2 separate regions of the Homo sapiens genome follow, and region 1 is linked to region 2. The links are contacts of gene promoters, found by promoter capture Hi-C in human tissues and cell types (Jung and others, 2019). All regions are on one chromosome and are shown on one strand. The core of a region is centred on a gene start or on the middle of the fragment in contact, and the rest is flanking DNA. Distances in the headings are between cores, read along the strand shown.

What was found. Contacts are between HindIII fragments. The study calls those that stand out against the background at their distance.
Region 1: a contact is called between a fragment that was not itself captured here and the fragment with the promoter of KIAA0040 in region 2, in 1 of the 25 tissues and cell types used here (heart right ventricle).

The regions. Positions count from the first base shown.
Region 1 is chr1:176,243,997-176,250,552 of GRCh38, reverse strand. All of the region lies in intron 4 of COP1-DT (COP1 divergent transcript), which reads right to left. It also overlaps the pseudogene RNU2-12P. Among named protein-coding and RNA genes, the nearest start is that of COP1-DT, 40 kb to the right of the region's middle. The HindIII fragment of the contact is 5,280 bases long and covers 1,713-6,556 here.
Region 2 is chr1:175,190,862-175,197,439 of GRCh38, reverse strand. KIAA0040 reads left to right here and starts at 4,664. Exons shown (of 4, transcript NM_014656.3): 1 at 4,664-4,800. RefSeq lists enhancers at 4,002-4,111, 4,832-4,981, 5,222-5,271, 5,412-5,461. The HindIII fragment of the contact is 10,092 bases long and covers 1-6,578 here.

The DNA of each region.
Region 1 (6,556 bases), core at 3,103-5,602, 1.1 Mb before region 2:
ACCAGAAAAGGCTACTCACATGGAAGCTGGCTAACCTCCTTATCAGTAATACCCAGACTGAGAAGGTGGACCAGGAGTTTCACTAGAAGCAGAGCTTGATAATAGAGGACACAGAAGAGCTAGGGTAAGGTATGAGGACCCTCTCACATCTGAGCCTTATGGTTCCCCTCACCAAATGATGCAGAATTTCTGTGGTCAACAATATCCAGGCACTATCTTGGGAAAGAAAAGATGTCAGAAAATTAGACAGGCTGAGCATTTACCCAAAATGGACAGTTTTAAAGAAAGGAGGCTCTTTATCTTGAAGAGAATGAGATACTCCTAATTAACAAGTTTATGTCCATTCTTCCCTGGAAGGTAGGTTCACGAAAATATTCAAATAATTTATAGAAACTAAAGATGCTACATATTTTATAAAACCTAAAGCCTAGTATATAAATATCAAAGCCATTTCACATTTTTCAAATTTATTAGGAGTTGCAAAGTATTTGCTTATAATTTCTTTTATTTTTTCCACATCTATTGTTTATCCTTCTTCATCCTGAGTTTTGTGTATTTACATTTCCTTCCTTCGTTCTTGACAGGTTAAATTAGTAGCTTTTCTATTTATAAAGTTTATTTTCAAGGAATTAGTTCTTATTTTGTATATTTATTCTATTTTTCTACTTTATTAATTGGTACTTTCATCTTTGTTTCTTTTGTTTAGATGTTAATTCAACATCTGAATTCAATATTAATTTCATTTAATTATTTTTTGTTTGATAATGAAAGTATGCATTTTTCATCTGAGTCCAGCTTTTTCACTTGGAGGATATAAAGAAAAATTGATTTCATTTCCATTCAGTCGAATCTTATTAGCACCCACTCTTGTAAATAATGTCACTTTTTTGCATTACAATAAAAAATGTGTTCTGTATTGTTTTTTATATTTTGGATTTATTTAAGGTTTCCTTTGTGACCTAACATATGGACAAAATTTGTAAATATTTAATGAGTGAGAAGAAACCGCATTCAATATCTGTTTGCTAGGAAAAGAACTAAAGAAATACATATAAATGAAAGGCTGGATGTGATGGCTCACGCCTGTAATCCCAGCACTTTGGGAGCCCGAGGCGGGCGAATCATGAGGTCAAGAGATCGAGACCATCCTGGTCAACATGATGAAACCCCGTCTCTACTAAAAATACAAAAATTAGCTGGATATGGTGGCACGCACCTGTAGTCCCAGCTACTCAGGAAGCTGAGGCAGGAGAATCGCTTCATCCCAGGAGGAGGAAGTTGCAGTGAGCCGAGAGGGCGCCACTGCACTCCAGCCTGGCGACAGAGTGAGACTCTGTCTCAAAAACAAACAAACAAAAATACAACAAGAACAACAACAAAAAAGACATACGTGTCAATTAGAGCAGTTTTATTCTATTTTTATTTCTCTATGGCTTTATTTTTTTTTGTCTTCTTTATCACTCAAGGATCAAGAGAGGATAAAGATTTTCATTACTATTATATTTTCGTGTGCTTTCTTCATTTTCCTGAAAAGAATCTTTTGGCTTGACTCATGCATTTTAGTTACATCTTCATTTTGATTATATTCTTAATCATTACAAGTGTTTTTTTGCCCTGAATTCAACTTTTTTGTTAAAAGATGGGGTCTTGCTCTGGTTGCCCAGGCTACAATGCAGTGGCACGATCATAGCCTAGCTCTCTGCAGCCTTGAAACCTTGGGCTCAAGTGATCCTCCGATTTTAGGCATAAGCCACTGTGACTTTTTTGGTATCATCAAGTTTTTTTTTTTTCATTGCATTTTTTTACACTGATACTTTTTTTTTTTTTTTTTTTTTGAGACGGAGTCTCACTCTGTCGCCCAGGCTGGAGTGCAGTGATGCTATAGTGCAGTGGTGCTATCTCGGCTCACTGCAAGCTCCGCCTCCCGGGTTCACGCCATTCTCCTGCCTCAGCCTCCCAAGTAGCTGGGACTACAAGCACCCGCCACCACGCCCTGCTAATTTTTTGTATTTTTAGTAGAGATGGGGTTTCACCGTGTTAGCCAGGATGGGGCATCTCCTGACCTCGTGATTTGCCTGCCTCAGCCTCCCAAAATGCTGGGATTTCAGGCTTGAGCCACTGCGCCCGGCCAACACTGATACTTTTAATTTCACAGGATCACTTTTAAAAACTCTGTCTCCTATAAACAGCATAAAGTTGTTTTTTATGCTACTTTTTTATACTACTAAAAAAGTCTACTTTTTACTTGATTTAAGTGAAATCATCTACTAGAGGAAAAGTAGAAGATTTCACTCCTTTTAAATTATGCATGTGTATATGTGTGGTTATAGAGAGAGAATACATCTTAACTAGTATTCTTTCATGCTTCCTTGGTATTTTATTTGATTTCTAACTTTTATTATGTAGTTTCATTTATTTTGTTTGCTACCCACATCATCCTCTACCTAAGTAATTTGGAAGTTATAATTTGTTTTCTGGTTTTTGTACTATTGGTAACCTTGACATTTTTAAATTAATTCTGAAACATATATTTCTCAATCAGTTCCAGATAAAAAACAGTATAGGTTTAATACTCTCAATTTTTGGTCATGTTCTAAGATTTCATTTTATTATTGTCAAATTATTTTTGCATCGTGTAGCTTTTGTTTCAATAATCATAATAATTGCAGTCTGTTTGGGGCCTAAATATGTTTTTGCTTTACTGGACTTAATGTTGACAATTCATTGTTTATACTACATCTTCTCCAGTTATGCATGACTTCATATTTGGTTATATCCTTTGATTAGCTGGATTACAAATTCAAATAAATTTTTTCAAATAGTACAGCTCAAAGGATTTCTCTCTGTTACCATTACACTTTTAAGAAAACTCAGCCAGATGTAGAATTATTGGGTCACACCTTTCAGTCAAGTATCAATCAATACATTATTCTTCAGTGCCCACATTGTGTGAGTAATTGTGCTAGATACTAAAAATACACAAATGGTCCCTGCCCTCACAAGGATTATATTTAAAAAGCAATTTCAAGAGACTTAAATATTTCCAAGGTAGCATACAGAGTCAAAGGAATATGCAATAATTTAACCTAGTTTTGATTTAACCAAGTTTAAACAATGAGAGAGATATTCTTCAAAGAAGTGAGATTTAAGTCCAGACCTAGAGGATGAGTAGGAGTCAGTGGGTAAAGAATGAGAAGAAGAATGATAGAAAAGCAGACAAATGGTTTCATTTGGACAAAGGGCTTGAGGGAAAAACAGGAGAGCTCTTCTGAGATGAAGCAATGAGGAGCACATAATATGTAGAGAATTTAACATTTAAAAACCTACTAAAGGCATGGCACAGTGGCTAACACCTATAATACCAGCACTTTAGGAGGCCAAGGTGGGTGGATAGCCTGGGGTCAGGAGTTCAAGACCAGACTGACCAACATGGTGAAACCCTGTCTCTACTAAAAATACAAAAATTAGCTGGGTGTGGTGGAGCGCACCTGTGGTTTCAGCTACTCCGGAGGCTGAGGTGGGAGGACCACTCAAGCCTGGGAGGTGGAGGTTGCAGTGAACCGAGATTGCACCACTACACTCCAAACTGTGTGACAGAGTAAGACCCTGTCTCAAAAAAAAAAAACCTACTTAAAATTAGGCTACTCTTTATTAGCAGCATGGGTCAACCATCCTAAACAAGATCAGTGATAAAATACTTCTCCCCAGACTTCTAGTTCTAGATAGGACATGTAAAGAGCTTGAAAGTTGTCACTTCTGGAGTTAAAACAAGGAAAAGCTAGAGAAACTGAAAATCAATTATTTTTCTTGAATTGATGTGGGGCTCAGAAAATGATATTCCAAAGTATGGTGCTTTGGTGTGCTGAGCACTTATGAACTAAAGAAAATTAAAAGACCTTAGACTAGAGCCTCAGAACCAAGGACTTTCTAGCCTTCTCCTGTTCCTCCTCCTAAGCACAGAGTGAAATTGTCTTCCTTAGGTTCATTTATCTGAAGCTCCTCCAGAAAAACACAGTTACCCTCCACCCCCTACCTGAAATTTCATTATCTACCATATAGTAGACTGAGGAATGTAACCACACCTGGACAGACGTTATGACAAAATATTTTCTGTCTCTCATTCAAATTCCAAAGAAACAATTGCAAGCTAATTTCCATCTCCTGGGTCCAGTCATCCTCCCTAAAATTATTTATCACCCTTCAAAAATTGTCTTTCAAAGCCATCTTCCTCTTCCCCAATTTTCTTTCCCCTATGAAGAGGGTATATCAGCTTCAGCCATCTGGCCCTTCTTTGTGTAAAAAGAAGTAATTCAAAATCAAAGCTGAACTACTTACATGACAAGGGATTAATAACCAGAATATATAAGGAGCTCAAACCACTCTACAGGGAAAAAAAATCTAATAACCCAGCTTTAAAAATGGGTCAAAGATCTGAATAAACACTTCTCAAAAGAAGAAATACAAATGGCAAACAGGCATATTAAAAGGTGTTCAACATCATTGATCATCAGAGAACTGCAAATCAAAACTACAATGAGATATCCTCTCACCTTAGTTAAAATGGCTTTTATCCAAAAGACAGGCAATAACGAATGCTGGCAAAGATGTGGAGAAAAGGGAACCCTCCTTGTACACTGTTGGGGGGAACATAAACTAGTGCAACCACTATCAAGAACAGTTTGGAGGTTCCTCAAAAAACTAAAATAGAGCTACTATATGACCCAGCAAACCCAGTGCTGGGTATATATCCAAAAGAAAGAAAATCTGTATTTCAAAGAGATATCTGCACTCCTATGTTTGTTGCAGCACTGTTTACAATAGCTAAGATTTGGAAGCAACCTAAGTGTTCATCAACAAACGAATAAAGAAAATGTGGTACATATACAGATGGAGTACTATTCAGCCATAAAAACAAGAATGAGATCCTGTCATTTGCAACAACATGGATAGAACTGGAGATCATTATGTTAAGTGAAATAAGCCAGGCACAGAAAGACAATCATTGCATGTTCTCACTTATTTGTGGAATCTAAAAATGAAAACAATTGAACTCAGGGTCATAGAGAGTAGAAGGATGGTTGCCAGAGTCTGGGAAGGGTGGGAAGGTTTGGGAAAGAAGTAGAGATGGTTAATGGATACACAAAATAGAAAGAATGAATAAGACCTACTATTTGATAACACCACAGGGTGACTATAGTCATAATAACTTAATTGTACATTTAAAAATAACAGAGTATAATTGGATTGTTTGTAACACAAATCATAAATGCTTGATGGAATGGGTACTCCATTCTTTATGATCTGATTATTTCACATTGCATGCCTGTTTCAAAACTCATGTACCACAGAAATATATACACCTACCATGTACCCACAAAAAATAAATATTAAAAATAAATGAAACAAAGAAAGAAAATCAAAGCTATTGGAACTTTACATGATTTTGAGTCTTAAAGGAATGTGATTATGAGACCTGAGTCATATGACAGGCGATTGTAATCTAAGCAGCTGTAACCTAGGCAGCTATAACCTTTGTTCTTCTGATTATAGATATACATCTCTTACACAAAGTCCTTATGACTATCACATTGCCTAAAATAAAATGTTAAAGATACCCTTCTACGTTGGAAAGGAAAATAAAACAAGCTAAAGCAAATTAAATTACTGTAACTCATAAACTAGCCTTGTATGGAAAATGCTGTCATTCTGTTCAATTTTTTGCTCTCTGCCTATAGAAGCAATGCTTTAACTTTTCAGCTTCTTAGTGCTGATCCCATTTATTTGGCTTCTGTGTTACTGAGATGTCCATTCACAGCATTATGTTTGAAGAAAATCTTTTAAACTAGATTCTCATCCTTTCAATTATTTCTTATTGACATATGGCTCCTGTGCTTCTGCACATTACTAAATTTGTATGCCTTTTCTCTTGCTAATCTGTCCATTATTAGTTCATTTCAGTGAACCTTCAGAGAGTAGAGGGAAAGCCTTCCTTTTTCATCCCTACACAGGACAAATCACAACCCAAAAATGTGGAGAGAGACACAGCTGAAATCTGCACATCTAAATAAGCAGAAGCTGCTGGAGCCATAACATAGTAGAAACATTTAAATGCTTATTTGGGTGAAATGCCAGAGTCTGAGTGTGGACTGGCACAAGAATGAGAGGCTCCTGAGGGCCACAATGTTGGAGGGATCCTCATATTTTTATAAGTTTTGGCTCTAGAAATCTTACCACATTCTCATAGTAAACGCACAGGAAAGATCCCCTGTGGCTCTAGCAGGATGGAGGGAAGAGGGGAGACTAATCATATAATCCAGAACATTCTCCAGAAAAAGGCCTAGTCTCCAGGGAAAAAGACTTCCAGAGACTTATCCTATCCATGACAACTCCAGTCCCATTCACTCTTGCTAGCTCATGTAAGGGTGGAAAAAAGCTAAGAGACATTTGTGAAAGTCATGGTCCAGGGACATCATTATACAAAAGACTGAAATTTAATTATAAGATTATAGAAATTCTTCTTCCCATCACTTCTCAGCCTTTTGGCTAAGATCAAGTG
Region 2 (6,578 bases), core at 3,415-5,914:
CCCCACACCGAGACCCCTGCCACAAAATGGAATTCAGAGGCCTGTTTTTTACATCTGAACAAAGCCAATGCTGAATCCCAGCAAAGGGTCTGAAGAATAGCCCTGGCCAGTTTATGACTGCCAGTGATAGTGCTGTAAAAATAGCTTTCAAGACACAACTCAGGGTGGGGGGCTGTGAGCCAGAAACAGAAAATGGAAACTGAGCCCTTTTGTGCCCCAGAAGTATAAACAAAGGGCTTTCTAAGCCACCAGCCCACCTTGACCTCCATACTGGAAGAGGTGGGGCATGATGTACTATCTCTAGAACTTACAGGAGTACTCAAGAAAGCACAAAGTGGGCTGGGCGCGGTGGCTCAAGCCTGTAATCCCAGCACTTTGGGAGGCCGAGGCGGGCGGATCACGAGGTCAGGAGATCGAGACCATCCTGGCTAGTACGCTGAAATCCAGTCTCTATTAAATATACAAAAAAGTTAGCTAGGTGTGGTGGCGGGCACCTGTAGTCCCAGCTGTTCAGGAGGCTGAGGCATGAGAATGGCATGAACCCGGGAGGCGGAGCTTGCAGTGAGCCGAGATCGCACCACTGCACTCCAGCCTGGGCGACAGAGCAAGACTCCATCTAAAAAAAAAAAAAAGGCACAAAGTGCATGGAGCAGAGGGGCATGTGTGTGGTGGGAGACAGGTAGATTATTAGAGGAGACATCCAAGAGCTTCCTAAACCTCCTCCAGGGCCAAGATTTGGAGCTATAGCTGTAAAAGCAACATTTTGCCAGGCATCCTGGATGTAGCAATGAAGACATTTTGGATGCCGCATTAAAAAAAAAGCTCCCAAGGAAAGTATATTGTTAACTCCTGTTTTTTGTTTTTTGTTTTTTTAAAAAGCTTTCATAATTAGAGTAACTTATGTCAGAATTAGATAATTTAGGAGGAAGACCTGAACAGAAATCTAATTGCAAGAGCTAAATATGGTAACCAGTATGGAAGCAGACACTCAAATCTGTTCAGAAGTCGAAAGTCAAAATAAAGAAGCAATGCATTTTAAATGGGCTGTAAGTCTCAGGTAAAAAGAACATGGTTTTGCTGCCTTCATAAAGCAAAGGCCACAGAGGCTGAAGAATTAGGGAGGTAGTGTTGGTGCTGCCAGTCAGCTCCAATCCAAGCCCTATGGAGGCCAGGACTCTTTGACCACAAAGACCCCCAGGTACACACTGTGTAAGGCCTCATTGGGCCACCCTGAACTCCCCACCACATGGAGTATATCTCTGCTTCCTGCAGCTCTCTTTATGCCTCTGCCATTCACTCTTCTGGAATCCATTTATGTTGCCAGTTTGTACCACCTCTGGGAGATAATTCATTCCATAAATTTATTACCTGCTGCATGAAGTAGTATTTCCGCTGACTTGTCCTGAACTTGCCCCACTCGTGGTTCCAAAGCACTGCTATATTTCAGGATCTGATGAACAAGTCTGTGCTCATCATATCCACACCATTTATAGTCTGATCATTTCCTCCTAACAGCCTTCTCCTTGTCAGCAGCCCTGTGACTTCTACTCAGTTCCTCAGAACATCCATGTTGCTATTTGGGGACTTTCCCTATCCCCGTTTTAACCTTCTAGACCCTCTCACAGTGTTGCAGGCAAGAATACACCACAGTTATTGGTAAGAGTAAAATGATGTTCTCAATTTAAAATTTCCCACACCTGAAAAATGTGTCCAATTTTGTGCAGCACTGTCCTGGATGCAACCACATTATAAAAGACACAGCTTCTAGACTCTGGGTTTGCAAACTCATGGGAAACTGTCTCCAGGCAGCACGGGTGGATCAGTACTGGCCAATACTGCAAGTTAACCTGTCTGAAATAGGGCATTGCCAAGAAAGAAATCCAAGTGTAGTCAGTCTTAGCTTCAAAGCAGACTAAGTTCAATACTTAGCACTCCACTGATTTTTACAGTATCTGAGAGGGAGGCAACCCCTGTTTTCTGCAACATACTGATGTGAAACCAGAGATCAGCAGGTGCTAAAGCTAGTGAGGAGTGGTCAAAAAGGGGTTCCAATTTCCAGTCTCAGTGCACAAATCTGCTTTATTTTGGCTTCTTTTTTTAAAAAAAAAAAAAGTTAATATTTTGTTCTACTCCATTTAGTGCCCACTAAGCTCTTGACCAACTTCAAATATCCTTACTGAAAACAAGAAAAATAATAAGGATTAAGCAAAACGTAGTAGCCCTGTTGCTGCCTGGGGCTGTTCATGAGTTCATAGGAGTTAGGATTTTACTGCCAAGGAATAAAATAGTAGGTGGGTGTTCCAACCTGCTTTTTCATAAGGAACACATCATTCATCCAGGGTGAAAACATCCTTGCCAGATGCCCACTTCTTTTCTTCTGCATAATTGCATCTTCTAGTAGTGTCAATACAGCAACAGACTTTGCAGCCTTGGCAGTCTAGTGTGAGTAAATCCACCATCCAGCCCACCTATAAGTCCCTGATTTCTCTGCCACAGAATTTTCTGGTTTTCAGCATTAGACTTTTCTCCTTATGAATTGAGATAGCTAGAGATACCATCTTATGGATGGCCCTGGTTTCCTTTCTACGATCAGACAACCATGTCCATGAAGCCCTGAGCTCAATTCGATTGCCCCTGTTTTTCTCATTTAGTTTCTTCCTCTTTTCTCTTAAAAGCAACCCTACATACCCATCACCCTGGCCAGAACCAATCTGTAATGTTGCTCCAGACTTTCAGGAAAGTATTTTCTATGGCCTCCCCGCAATAGGCGTCATTCAAGACCTGTACATGATCCCTGCTCAAGTGTGGAATTCCTTCACAGAAGGCAAGTTCCTCCTCTACTAGATGATATGGTGGTAAAAGGATGCACTGGGTCAGGGGGAGCGGCGGTTGGAAACACTTGGATTCAAACCTGGCTCTACCATTTATTAGCTATGTGACCTTGAGGAACTTCCTTAGCTTCCTCTCAACCACAATTTCCTCACCTGTACAATGAGGATAATACTACCTCTCATAAATGTGTTGTGAAAGGTTGAATGATACACTGTGTGTAAACCTCCAGGCAGGAGATCCCCATTCCCAAATTTTCAGGCCAGCATTCAAGGCCTTACTATCATCCATCCCAGGCCTGTCTTCCTCATGGCCCTGTTAGACTCTATACTCTGGCCTTAGGCTCCAGGAGTTTTAGAGGAACCTACATAGGTACATAGGTACATTGTACATAGGTAGACAACTGCAGGCTCAAAGTGTCATTACAGATTTGAGCTTCTCCCGGCTTGTGAATCTAGTCTTCCTCTGTAAAAAATAAATAAATAAATAAATAAATAACTTATTTTCCTCTTTTTCTAGCCATTTTTGGCGTTTCAGGCTGGATGGTGGGTTTTCTCTTTGGCCTTTCAACTCAGAGCCACGTGGTTTCTCCTGAATAAACAGAAAGGAATCTCTTGAATCTCAGTTGTGACAGTTGGTTGCAGCAGTCATTTTAATGCCCACTTGGAGAAGCCAAAGGACACCCATACTCAGGCACAGTCGATGGAGGGCAAGTCCTGGTTCAGCACCTGGCACCTGGTACCTGTGTACCTGGCAAATACAGTCGAGGGAACAGCATTTCAGGCCCTTGTCAGGGAGGACCTCCCAGGATGACACTGAGGAGGCCCCTGAAATGATCCACAGCCAGGTCCTGGCATCCCCCTCTTTTCCCACCCACAGTATCCCTGGAGGCACTGAACAAGCTCTGAATCATCAGAGCTTTGTGTCTGGAGTCCCCTATTCAAAGGGGCGCAGGTCTTTTCATTTCCTAGCATCCCATGTGCTCGGAACTAGAGCCAAGAGATCTGAATAGAAAGTAGATGGAGAGCAGCTGAGGATGAGAGGGAAGAACCCCTGAGAACTTTTTGAAGTCAGCTTTCCCCTCCGTCATTTGCTTGTGACAGACAGCTCCTGGGGCGCAGTTTTCCTTAGCGCCTCCAGGCAGCAGAGACAAAGACTCTTCTGAGATGTCACCTGCACCCCTTGGAGCAACCGGCGTTGGCTAGAGGGGACTGTCATGCTCATTTGTCCCGATAAGACATCGGAGCCTTCACCCAACCTGCCGCATGGTATCCCTCTCCAACGCCTCCCACCCCTTCCAGGAAGGCCCTCTATTTAGGCAGCTGTTTTCCCTGAAGCCGGGTTTGCCCGGAGTTCTGTGTCCCATTCCTGGAACACTGGTGCGTCTGTGAGAGACACCGGGGCTGGCTCCGCAGCCGCTGTGTCCTGAAGGAGGCGTGTTCCGGGACTGAGGGGGCAAGGACACGTAATGGCGGGGGGCGGGGAGTGGGGAGCCACCGGCGGGAAGACGGGGAGGGAGGGCGCGTCTGGGGCGTGTGCGCCCAAGGCCAGAGGCACCCGAGGTGGGCTGGCCCAGGGTGGAAAGCCTGGGCCGAGCCCCTGGAGCGGGCGGAACGGCGAGCCAGATTCAGGAAGTTGTGCCTGTGACATCAGGGGCAGGACAGAGTTGGAGCGAAACCTCAACTATGCCAGGCGTCGGCCCGTAGGAAGGCAGGGAACACAGAGGGCGCTGCCCTCGGCGGCAGCGGCAGGTACGCGCGGGGGTGGAGCGGGGCGGGGCGGGGCGGGGCGGGCGGCTCCCACGACCTTGGCCGGCGCCGGGGCCCTACACGCCAGACCTGGCTCGGGGTGGGAGTGCAGAGGCAACCAAAAAGGAACCCACACCTCCCTCCAGGGCCCGGGGCGCTGTCAGACGGGGCAGCAACCAGGAGATTCCCTGGGCCTGCAGGAAGCCCTTCCGCGGACCGAAAGGTGAGTTTCAGGACTTTCTGTTATGTTTTTTAAAAATACATTTTTAAGCGCCCTCTGTTTGGAAGAAGACGCCCAGTCACTCCTGTCTTTAGAAGGATGAGACCTGCCCCAGAGATACAAGGAATTATTCCTAAGTAGCCTCTTGCGCCTTCACAACTTTAGTTCTGGTGTGTTTCCCTCCTTCGCGAGGACTCTCAGGAGTCTTCCTCTCTGCGCCTGGGCTGAGTCCACATGAACTCCTCGGAGGTCGGCGGTGGAGTTACCTTACTCCAGCTGCCGGTAGGAGCGCTTTGAAGGGGACACATGGAAATTCTGTTTTTTACTGAGAAAGCTAAGGCCTGAGACCCTCCGGAAAGCATCGCGGGCTTAGGTGTTTCTAAACCATTCTAGGTGAAGCCAGATTTTCTCTGGAGCTAAGGAACTAGCCAAAACGAAAATATGGCGTGGAGCCAGGGGCGGAGAGGAAACCTGTTTGCTATTCTGAGAGTTTCCAGGGAGCTTGCTGTGACACAGATTACTTCCTAACTTCTTTGACTCTCAGTGGTCCCACCCCCAGACCCCCCATCCCACCCATGAAGGTAGAGTGGGGGACATAATAGGACCTGTTTCCCTAACATTCTGAAGAGCTTTACGGGATTCATCATATGATAATAGAGTTAAGTAAACTATAGATGATAGCTAGTGGGAAGACCAGTCCTGCCTAACCGAAAGGGAAACTGAAGCACAGACAAGCACTCACCCTAATTTAACAGAACACCGGCAGCCAGCATGCCATGCTACTTAGCGGGATTGTGCCACCGATTGCGTTATACGAGGAAGGGAAGGAAAAGACCACTGGAGCATCTTGGAAGCTCCTCCCTTCTAAAGCAGTTGCATTTCATTTGCTCAGCTACAGCTCATAAGGACCTGAAGCTAATTTTAAGGAACCCTCATTCTGAAGTTCTGTTAGATAATGGGAGAGCCTTGAGTTACAAAGAGCAGGACTTAAACATAGCATTGATGCAACCTGTTCCTAACCCTTTTGCAAATGGTTTGCAAGTTCTATCTAAAGACTTCTGCAAGCGTCTTACCAGCCTTTAAACTGGTTCAGTTGCATCAACCACTTAGTCTGATGTGCCTGCCCTTCACCCAGTGCTGGGCTGGAGAGGCAGCTGTACAGGAAAATCTGACCAAGTCTTTCCTTTTGTCTGAAATTCTGCCTCTCTGTCCCCATCCCAGATACAATTTTAGGAAAGAGATGCGTTGTAAAACAAAAGTTTCTTTGGCCTCCATGCATTGTCAATATTTGGCCTGTGAAATGAGTATGACTTCTGTCCTCTTCCCTAAAGACTAAACCCAAGAGAATAATAAACACTCAACAAACTAAGTTATTGATTTCACCAAAGAGGGAGATGCATCCATTCCATACATTCATTCAACATTTGCCAAACCTACCGTGTGCAGGCCAGTATACCAGGGCCTTGGAGTCCAAAGATAATGAGATGGTTTCTGTTTTTGAGGAGCTTCAGTCTGGTAAGTGAGACAGATACAGAAATAAACTGCAGTTCAGGATAATATACATTGTAATAGCAGTAGCTACAGGGCACTGACTAATCCAGGGGAGAGGGCAGGAGATCCTTCCCCAGAATTATCTGTGAAGTCCACACCACAGAAGTGATGGATGAGCAGGGTCTTGGAAATGACTAGGAGTTCCTAGGGAAAGTGTGTTTTGAACAAAGGAAAGAGGGTATGCAAAGTCAATGGCAGGTAGGGAATAGCGTGTAATAGGAATTACACTG